2 separate regions of the Homo sapiens genome follow, and region 2 is linked to region 1. The links are contacts of gene promoters, found by promoter capture Hi-C in blood cells and fetal thymus (Javierre and others, 2016). All regions are on one chromosome and are shown on one strand. The core of a region is centred on a gene start or on the middle of the fragment in contact, and the rest is flanking DNA. Distances in the headings are between cores, read along the strand shown.

What was found. Contacts are between HindIII fragments. The CHiCAGO score rates a contact against its expected background, and 5 or more counts as called.
Region 2: a fragment that was not itself captured here is called in contact with the fragment with the promoter of CPPED1 in region 1 in 5 of 17 cell types (naive CD8 T cells, naive CD4 T cells, total CD4 T cells and 2 more); the score reaches 13.0 in naive CD8 T cells.

The regions. Positions count from the first base shown.
Region 1 is chr16:12,802,152-12,805,762 of GRCh38, reverse strand. It overlaps CPPED1 (calcineurin like phosphoesterase domain containing 1), which reads left to right and starts at 1,876. Exons shown (of 4, transcript NM_018340.3): 1 at 1,876-2,056. The coding sequence starts at 1,987. RefSeq lists a silencer at 1,795-1,844 and an enhancer at 1,925-2,294. The HindIII fragment of the contact is 13,841 bases long and covers 1-3,611 here.
Region 2 is chr16:12,077,321-12,080,982 of GRCh38, reverse strand. It overlaps SNX29 (sorting nexin 29), which reads right to left. Exons shown (of 21, transcript NM_032167.5): 11 at 2,068-2,150. Among named protein-coding and RNA genes, the nearest start is that of SNX29, 100 kb to the right of the region's middle. The HindIII fragment of the contact is 4,146 bases long and covers 1-3,662 here.

The DNA.
Region 1 (3,611 bases), core at 627-3,126:
GTTGGCGAGGGTGGTCCCGATCTGTAGACCTCATGATCCGCCACCTCCACCTCCCAAAGTGCTGGCATTACAGGCCTGAACCATTGCGCCCGGCCTCCTTCACATTTCTTGGGACTCCTCCTCTGGGCCAGGCCATGTTCAGGGAATAGGGTTATAGTGATTGATTAATAATAACAATGGCTAATATTCATTGAGTACCTACCATTTGTTATTAGAACTATTATTCTAAGCACTTTGATACATGAACTCATTTAAGCCTTTCTGCAACCCTATGACCTAGATGCTACTATTGTTTCCATTTCACAGATAGGGAAACTGAGGCATAGAGAAACTATGCAATTTTCAAGAGCATACAACCAGTAAGTGGGTAGAACCGGGATTAATCCAAGCCCACTGACTCCAGGACTCATAGGCATTTATACTCTTAACCACTATGATTCATGGGTGACTCTTGTCAAGGATTAGAGAACAGTAGTTATGGCCATATTAGCTACTCAAACAGTGCTTTGGATGTAGGCAGCTAGTTTAGAAAAGAATTTCCCAAATTTGTAAGATCATAAGAGCTCCCCTGCAGTGCTTGTTAAAAACAGATCATTTTCAGGCCAGGCACTGTGGCTCATGCCTGTAATCCTAGCACTCTAGGAGGCCCGGGTGGGTGGATTGCTTGAGCTCAGGAGTTCCAGATCAGCCTGGGCAACATAGTCAAACTCGTCTCTACTAAAAATACAAAGTATTAGCCAGGCATGGTGGCGCACGCCAATAGTGCCAGCCACTTAGGAGGCTGAGGTGGGAGAATCACCTGAGCCCAGGAGATCGAGACTGCAGAGATTGTGCCACTGCACTCCAGCCTAGGCAACCAGAGTGAGACCCTGTCTCAAAACAACAACAACAACAACAAAACACAGATCATTTTCATAGAGATTTGGATTCAATAGGTCCATTCTGGAATTTGTATTTTCAACACGTTTGACAAATGCTGGCTAAGTAGTTCACTACAATGGCTCTTGAGTTGAAGAGACACTAATTTGGTTACTCGCAGCTTTACTACCTCTCTAGATGTGTGTCACCTTGTGCAAGTTCGTTCATCTCTCTGAGCGTCAGTTTCCCCAAATGACGGATGCAGCTAATAACAGCACCACCTCCTAGGGCTGTAGTGGGGATTAAGTGAGCAGCGTGCAAAGTGCTTAGCGCCCTGCCTGGTGCATAGCAAGCAAAGATAATAACAGAAAGATGGTGGCAGCCACTGGGAAGTTCAGGCTGAGACAGTCTTCCAAGACGTCCACCTTTTCATCTTTTTTTTTTTTTTTTTTGTATTGGCAAGGTCTCTCGCCGTGTTGCCCAGGCTGGTCTCCAACACCTGGACTCAAGCGATCCTCCCTCCTTGGCCTCCCAAAGAGCTGGGGTTACAGGCGTAAGCCACCCCAGTGGCTCCTTCTGACTTTATGATAGAGTTGTCAGATAAAAAAAAATCAGGACGCTTCCATTCAAACCTGCAAAAAGAGAAAAATTTAAAAAAATTAGGACGCCCAGTTCAATTGGAATTTCAGATAATGAAAAAAAAATTTAACGTAAGTAGCTCCCAAATACTGCATAGGACATATTTATACCAAGTCAGTCATTCTTTAAAAAAAAAAATCTGAAATTCCAATTTAACCGGGAGTCCTGCATTTTTACTTGTTAAATCTAGTAACTCTGCCTTTAGGGAAGGACTGACCCCAAAGCCTTATCCCCGCCCACGCGTGCCCTAGACAGTCTCCACTCGCCAGGCGCGCAGGTCGATCCCAGAGGGGCCGCTGGCGCCTCCGCTCCGCCCAGGCAGCACTAGTGGCGCCCCGAGCCACCGGGCCCCTCCCCGTCCCGCCCCAGTCCCGCCCCGAGATCAAAGGGCGTCGCCCAAAGCGGGACAGGTCCAGCGGTTGTTCTGTGTGAAGTCGCGCGGCTTCCACCCACGCAGTGTTCTAAGTGAAGGCCAGAAACTCGCTCGCCATGTCGGCTGCAGAGGCGGGGGGTGTTTTCCACAGAGCCAGGGGCAGGACCCTGGCCGCGTTTCCCGCAGGTACTGCCCGCCCCTCACCCGGGGAGGGGACTCTGGGGCTGCGGAACCTTCCGCCGGGGGAACCTTTTGTTCAGGTGTGCGCTCCGCCAGTCGGACACCATCCGGGGCTGCACCGGGGCCTGGGAGCCGCCATAGCTGCATCAAAGCCTGCTCTTAGGGATTCCAGGGGCGCAGTTGAGAGGCGAGGCCGAGAGAGCGATCTGGTCTAGGAGCCTCCTTGGCCTTGACCTAACTTCCCCCAGAGAAGGGAAGTAAGAGGAGGGTAGCAAAGCATAGTTAATGACAGCTTGGACTCTGCAGCGAGACCTGGTTTCCAAGCTGTGCATTAGCATCTTGGCCTCAGCTTCCACATCTGTGAAACGGGAATACTTGTGGGTGTTACTGGATAAGCGTTCGGTGCATGTTAGAGGGTGTCGGTTTTATTAAGGTTGTTCACCGTTATGTATTCTGTACTCCATAATGACGTTTATTTAAGTCATTCACCGAAATGGTAACACTGCCCCATCAGAGCAGTAGAGAGGGAGGGCATTCGAGAGTCGTAGTGAAGTGCTTGGATTTTGGATTTAGATTATCTGCTTTGCCTTAAAAATGGGTTTGATAATACCTGCCTCATAGGGTTGTTGGAAGCGTAAACAGATCAAAAGTATTTTTGTAACCCGGTGTTGGACGCATGCTAGGTGCTAAGTAAAGAGGGAGGTTTGTTTCTGGTTTGTTGATTCCCCTCTGTGGCTTTTTGCTGCCTGCAGCCAGATCGCCTCCCAGGCTCTCACCAGCTTTATACCCCCAGGGAAGTCACCCTAAATGCCCTATATGATCAGGCTTGTGTCCACTTCCTTCAGGGTTGTCATTCTCTCTCTTGCCCAGTTCTGCAACAGGTTTTGTTGTTGCCCTTGTTTGAACTGCATTTAAAAGGGCCAAGGCCGTTCTTTCCCTGAGGGTCTTGGCGCTTGCTGTTTTCTGCTTCTTTAGCAGGGTTGGTGAGCCTGGCTCTCTCAACCGTCACACCTCATTTTAAAGTTCATTCACTTCCTCAGAGACTTTACCTGCTACCTTATCTAAAGTAGGTTTCTCCGGTAATTCTATGGTAAAACCTTATTTATTCATTTAAGGCGGAGTCTTGCTTTATTGCCCAGGCTGGAGTGCAGTGGCACGATCTTGGCTCACTGTAACCTCCGCCTCCCGGGTTCAAGCGATTCTCCTGCCTCAGCCTCTGGAGTAGCTGGAACTATAGGCACGCACCACCACGCCCGGCTAATTTTGTATTTTTAGTAGAGATGGGGTTTCTCCATGTTGGCCAGGCTGGTCTCGAACTCACAACATCAGGTGATCCGCCGTCCTCAGCCTCCTAAAGTGCTGGGATTACAGACCTGAGCCACCGCGCCCGGCCTGGGACGACTGTATTTTAATGGACCTTGTCTTTTTTGTCCAACATGAAGATTTTGCTCTTTTCTTGCTGGGCAACATTCCATTGGATGATTATATACCTTATACATTCTGTTGATGTATATGCTGAATATCTTCCCTTTGCCTCTCCAAACCTTTCTCCCTTCCCCAC
Region 2 (3,662 bases), core at 764-3,263, 720 kb after region 1:
AGTCTGGGCACGGTGGCTCACACCTGTAATCCCAGCACTTTGGGAGGCTGAGACCGGCAGATCATGAGGTCAGGAGTTCAAGACCAGCCCGGCCAACATGGCGAAACCCCATCTCTACTAAAAATACAAAAATTAGCCGGGCGTGGGCCTGTAATCCCAGCTACTTGGGAGGCTGACGCAGGAGAATCGCTTGAACCCAGGAGGTGGAGGTTGCAGTAAGCTGAGATCGTGCCATTGCACTCCAGCCTGGGAGACAAGAGCAAGACTCTGTCTCAAAAAAAAAAAAAAAAGTAAACTGTAGTAGGCCGGGCACGGTGGCTCATGCCTGTCATCCCAGCGCTTTGGAAGGCTGAGGCGGGTGGATCGCTTGATCCTAGGAGTTCAAGACCAGCCTGGACAGCATGGTGAGACCTCAACTCTACAAAAAAATAAATAAATAAAAATGAATAATAAAGTAAACTATAGGGTAAGTAACAGTACTGTGGTAAACAAAAGATTGACAGGTGAAAAGCAGCCAGCTACATACTCACCCACCCTGTGTCCCATGGACTGAGTGATCTATTAACACCTGCTCAGCGGAGTTCAGGGCTGAGCAGCGCCACAGTAAACCACACATGCTCACATACAAAAAGTGCGGCCAGCCGTTCCCACGCAGCAGCCTTACGGTGTCTGCTCACTTCCTGCTTCACCCTTGAATCAAAGAATGCTGGGTGCCTCCCAAACTCTTTCTTCCTTCCTTAGCAACAAAAACTAATTTCCTTTTTATCAAGAACAATTGCCCCCTCTGCAGCCAAGGGGGACCATGACATGAATGCTGGCCCAAGACACGAGTGGTATACTGTAAGCACCTTCTAGTGAAGGTCGGGGGAGCTTCAACGTTTTTGTACCAAGAGCCCATTTTGTAATCTAGGAATAACCATGGGCTCCTATTCAGGAAAATGTATTAAAATATATAAAACATACCATATCACAAAGGAAACCAATTACATCAAAATAGAATGATCATGATTGAAGAAAATACTATATTTCACCCAGAGCTAAATGAAAAACATTGTAATTTTTTTCCCTATCCAAGCTCAGGCCCCTGAATCCTATATGTAGAAATAGACGAAGTCTCTCTGCTCTCTCCTCCTTCCTGCCGCCTGGAATGAGAATGAAATGGCTGGAGCTAAAATGGCTATTTTGGTCTACAAGGCAAGACAGGAGGAGTCCCGGTCTCTGATGGCCGTGGAGCCACATACCAGCCCCAGCCCATCTACCTCTGGATAGAGAGAAATTTCCATCACATCTCCTTAACCACCGGAACTTCAAGAAGAGTAGGTCTGAATGGCTTTGTGTACAAAAAATAAACCAACTGTTGGTTTACATAGTGTCTGCTCACTTCCTGCTTCACCCTTGAATCAGAAAATGCTAGGTGCCTCCCAAACGCCTTCTTCCTTCCTTAGCAACAAAAGCTAATTTTTTTTTTTAATTGGGAACAAGTGCCCCCTCTGCCTCCAGGGGAGGCCATGGGACAAATGCTGGCTCAAGCCACCAGTGAGATACCAGGAGCACCCGTCAGTTTACATAACAGTTGGTTTATTCTTTGTTATACAAAGCCATTCAAACCTAGTCTTCCTTGCTATATCTCTAATACTTTTTCTAGGTAGTAAAGTTGGAAACAGTTGAAGCCTGATCATTAGCAAAGTTTAATCATCTTGGAGAGACATATTCTTCTTCACTTACAAAAATGAGTCCTTCAGAGTTACAAAGGAAATCCAACTAGAATAGGTCCTCTGTAGCTAACTGCATTATGGGAGGCAAACCCCAAAACCTGGAACCACAGAAGTCTACGGCAAGGCTGCTCCATCCTGAGGCACGCCCTTTAGCGCGCACACGCCCAAGCGCCACGCATTAACCACGGTTCTGGATATCCACAAGCACGTACCACACCTCCAGTCTACAACCAGGGACGTACACACCTGACGTGAACCCACAGTCACAGGGTTAGAAGCACAAAGGCACCGCCATGAGACGTGGGCCAGAAGTCATCCCAGAGCTGGTGGAGGGGGCTGCGAAAGTACTTACTAATTGTCATGGACTCTGGCACTGAGGCAGAAGGTAACAGGCTGCTCAGAGGACTTCCGTGGCCTGGAGAGCTGGCTTCCACACTAGGAAAAAGCAGGCAGGAGGAAGTTACACTCGGCCACTGAAAGTACACACCCTCACCATTCCAAAAACTAGCAGAGGTCGGTTTACTCCGGTACCTCTACTAGAAGGGATAGAGGCAGTCATTGGAAATTAGTCAGGCCTCGTTATCTGCAGATTCCGTATTTGGAAATTCATCTACGCACTAAAATTTATTTGTAACCCCAAAGTCAATACTTGAGGTGCTTTCACAATCATTCATGAACACGTGCAGAGGCCAATAATTTCACTCCCTAATGTGCATAATCTCAGCTGAAGTCGAACAGCTGGGACCTCAGATCTCACACCGTAAACAAGCATCCTCTTTGCTGTCTATTTACTGCCATGTTTTTAGCATTTTTTTTTCCACTTTTCTTTCTTTTGCGTGATCTCGGCTCACTGTAACCTCCACCTCCTGGGTTCAAGCGATTCTTGTGCCTCAGCCTCCCAAGTAGCTGGGATTACAGGCCCGCACCACCACACCCGACTAATTCTTGTATTTTTACTAGAAATGGGGTTTCGCCAAGTTGGCCAGACTGGTCTCAAAGTCCTGACCTCAAGTGATCCACCTGCCTCAGCCTCCCAAAGTGCTGGGATTACAGGCATGACCCACCACACCCGGCCTTTTTTTCCACTTGATTTTATTGTTTAAAATGTCCCCAAGCACAGTGCTGAAGTGGTACTGCCGACAGTTCCTAAGCACAGGAAGGCTGTGATGTGCCGTATGGAGATAATTTGTGAGTTAGAGATGCTTCATTCAGGCATGGCTTACAGTGCTGCTGGCTGTGAATTCAATGTTAATGAATCAACTGCATACATTAAACAAGGTGTCTTTAAACAGGAACAGACATAAAACCAGGTTATGTGTTGATCAGTTGATAAAAATGCTGTGACCAGGCCAGGTGTGGTGGCTCATGCCTGTAATCGCAATACTTTGGGAGGCCGAGGCGGGTGGATCACATGAGGTCAGGAGTTCGAGACCAGCCTGGCGAACATGGCAAAACCCCTTCTCTACTAAAAATACAAAAATTATCTGGGTGTGGTAGCACATGCCTGTAATCCCAGCTACTTGGGAGGCTGAGGCAGGAGAATCACTTCAACCCAGGAAACAGAGGTTGCAGTGAGCCAAGATCACGCCACTGCACTCCAGCCCCGGGCAAAAGAGCAACAGTTCATCTCAAAAACAAAATGTGTGACCAGAGCCTCAAAGCAACTTAACCATGTACTTCCCCTAGGAGCACTGGTTCAGTCTTCATAGCAACTTTATAGAATACAACTACTGGGAATAATAAGAATCAACTGTATGTTTACAAATAATTTACAACATGAAAAATAAAGTTTAGTGTCTTTGGTGAGAACAGCACGGTCATCACATGGTTAACAGAGATACACACACACACACACACACACACACACACACACACACACACCATGACTAGGAGGAAAAGTACCAAAACATCAACAACATAATGAAGTTGAGGGTTAAGACTGATTTT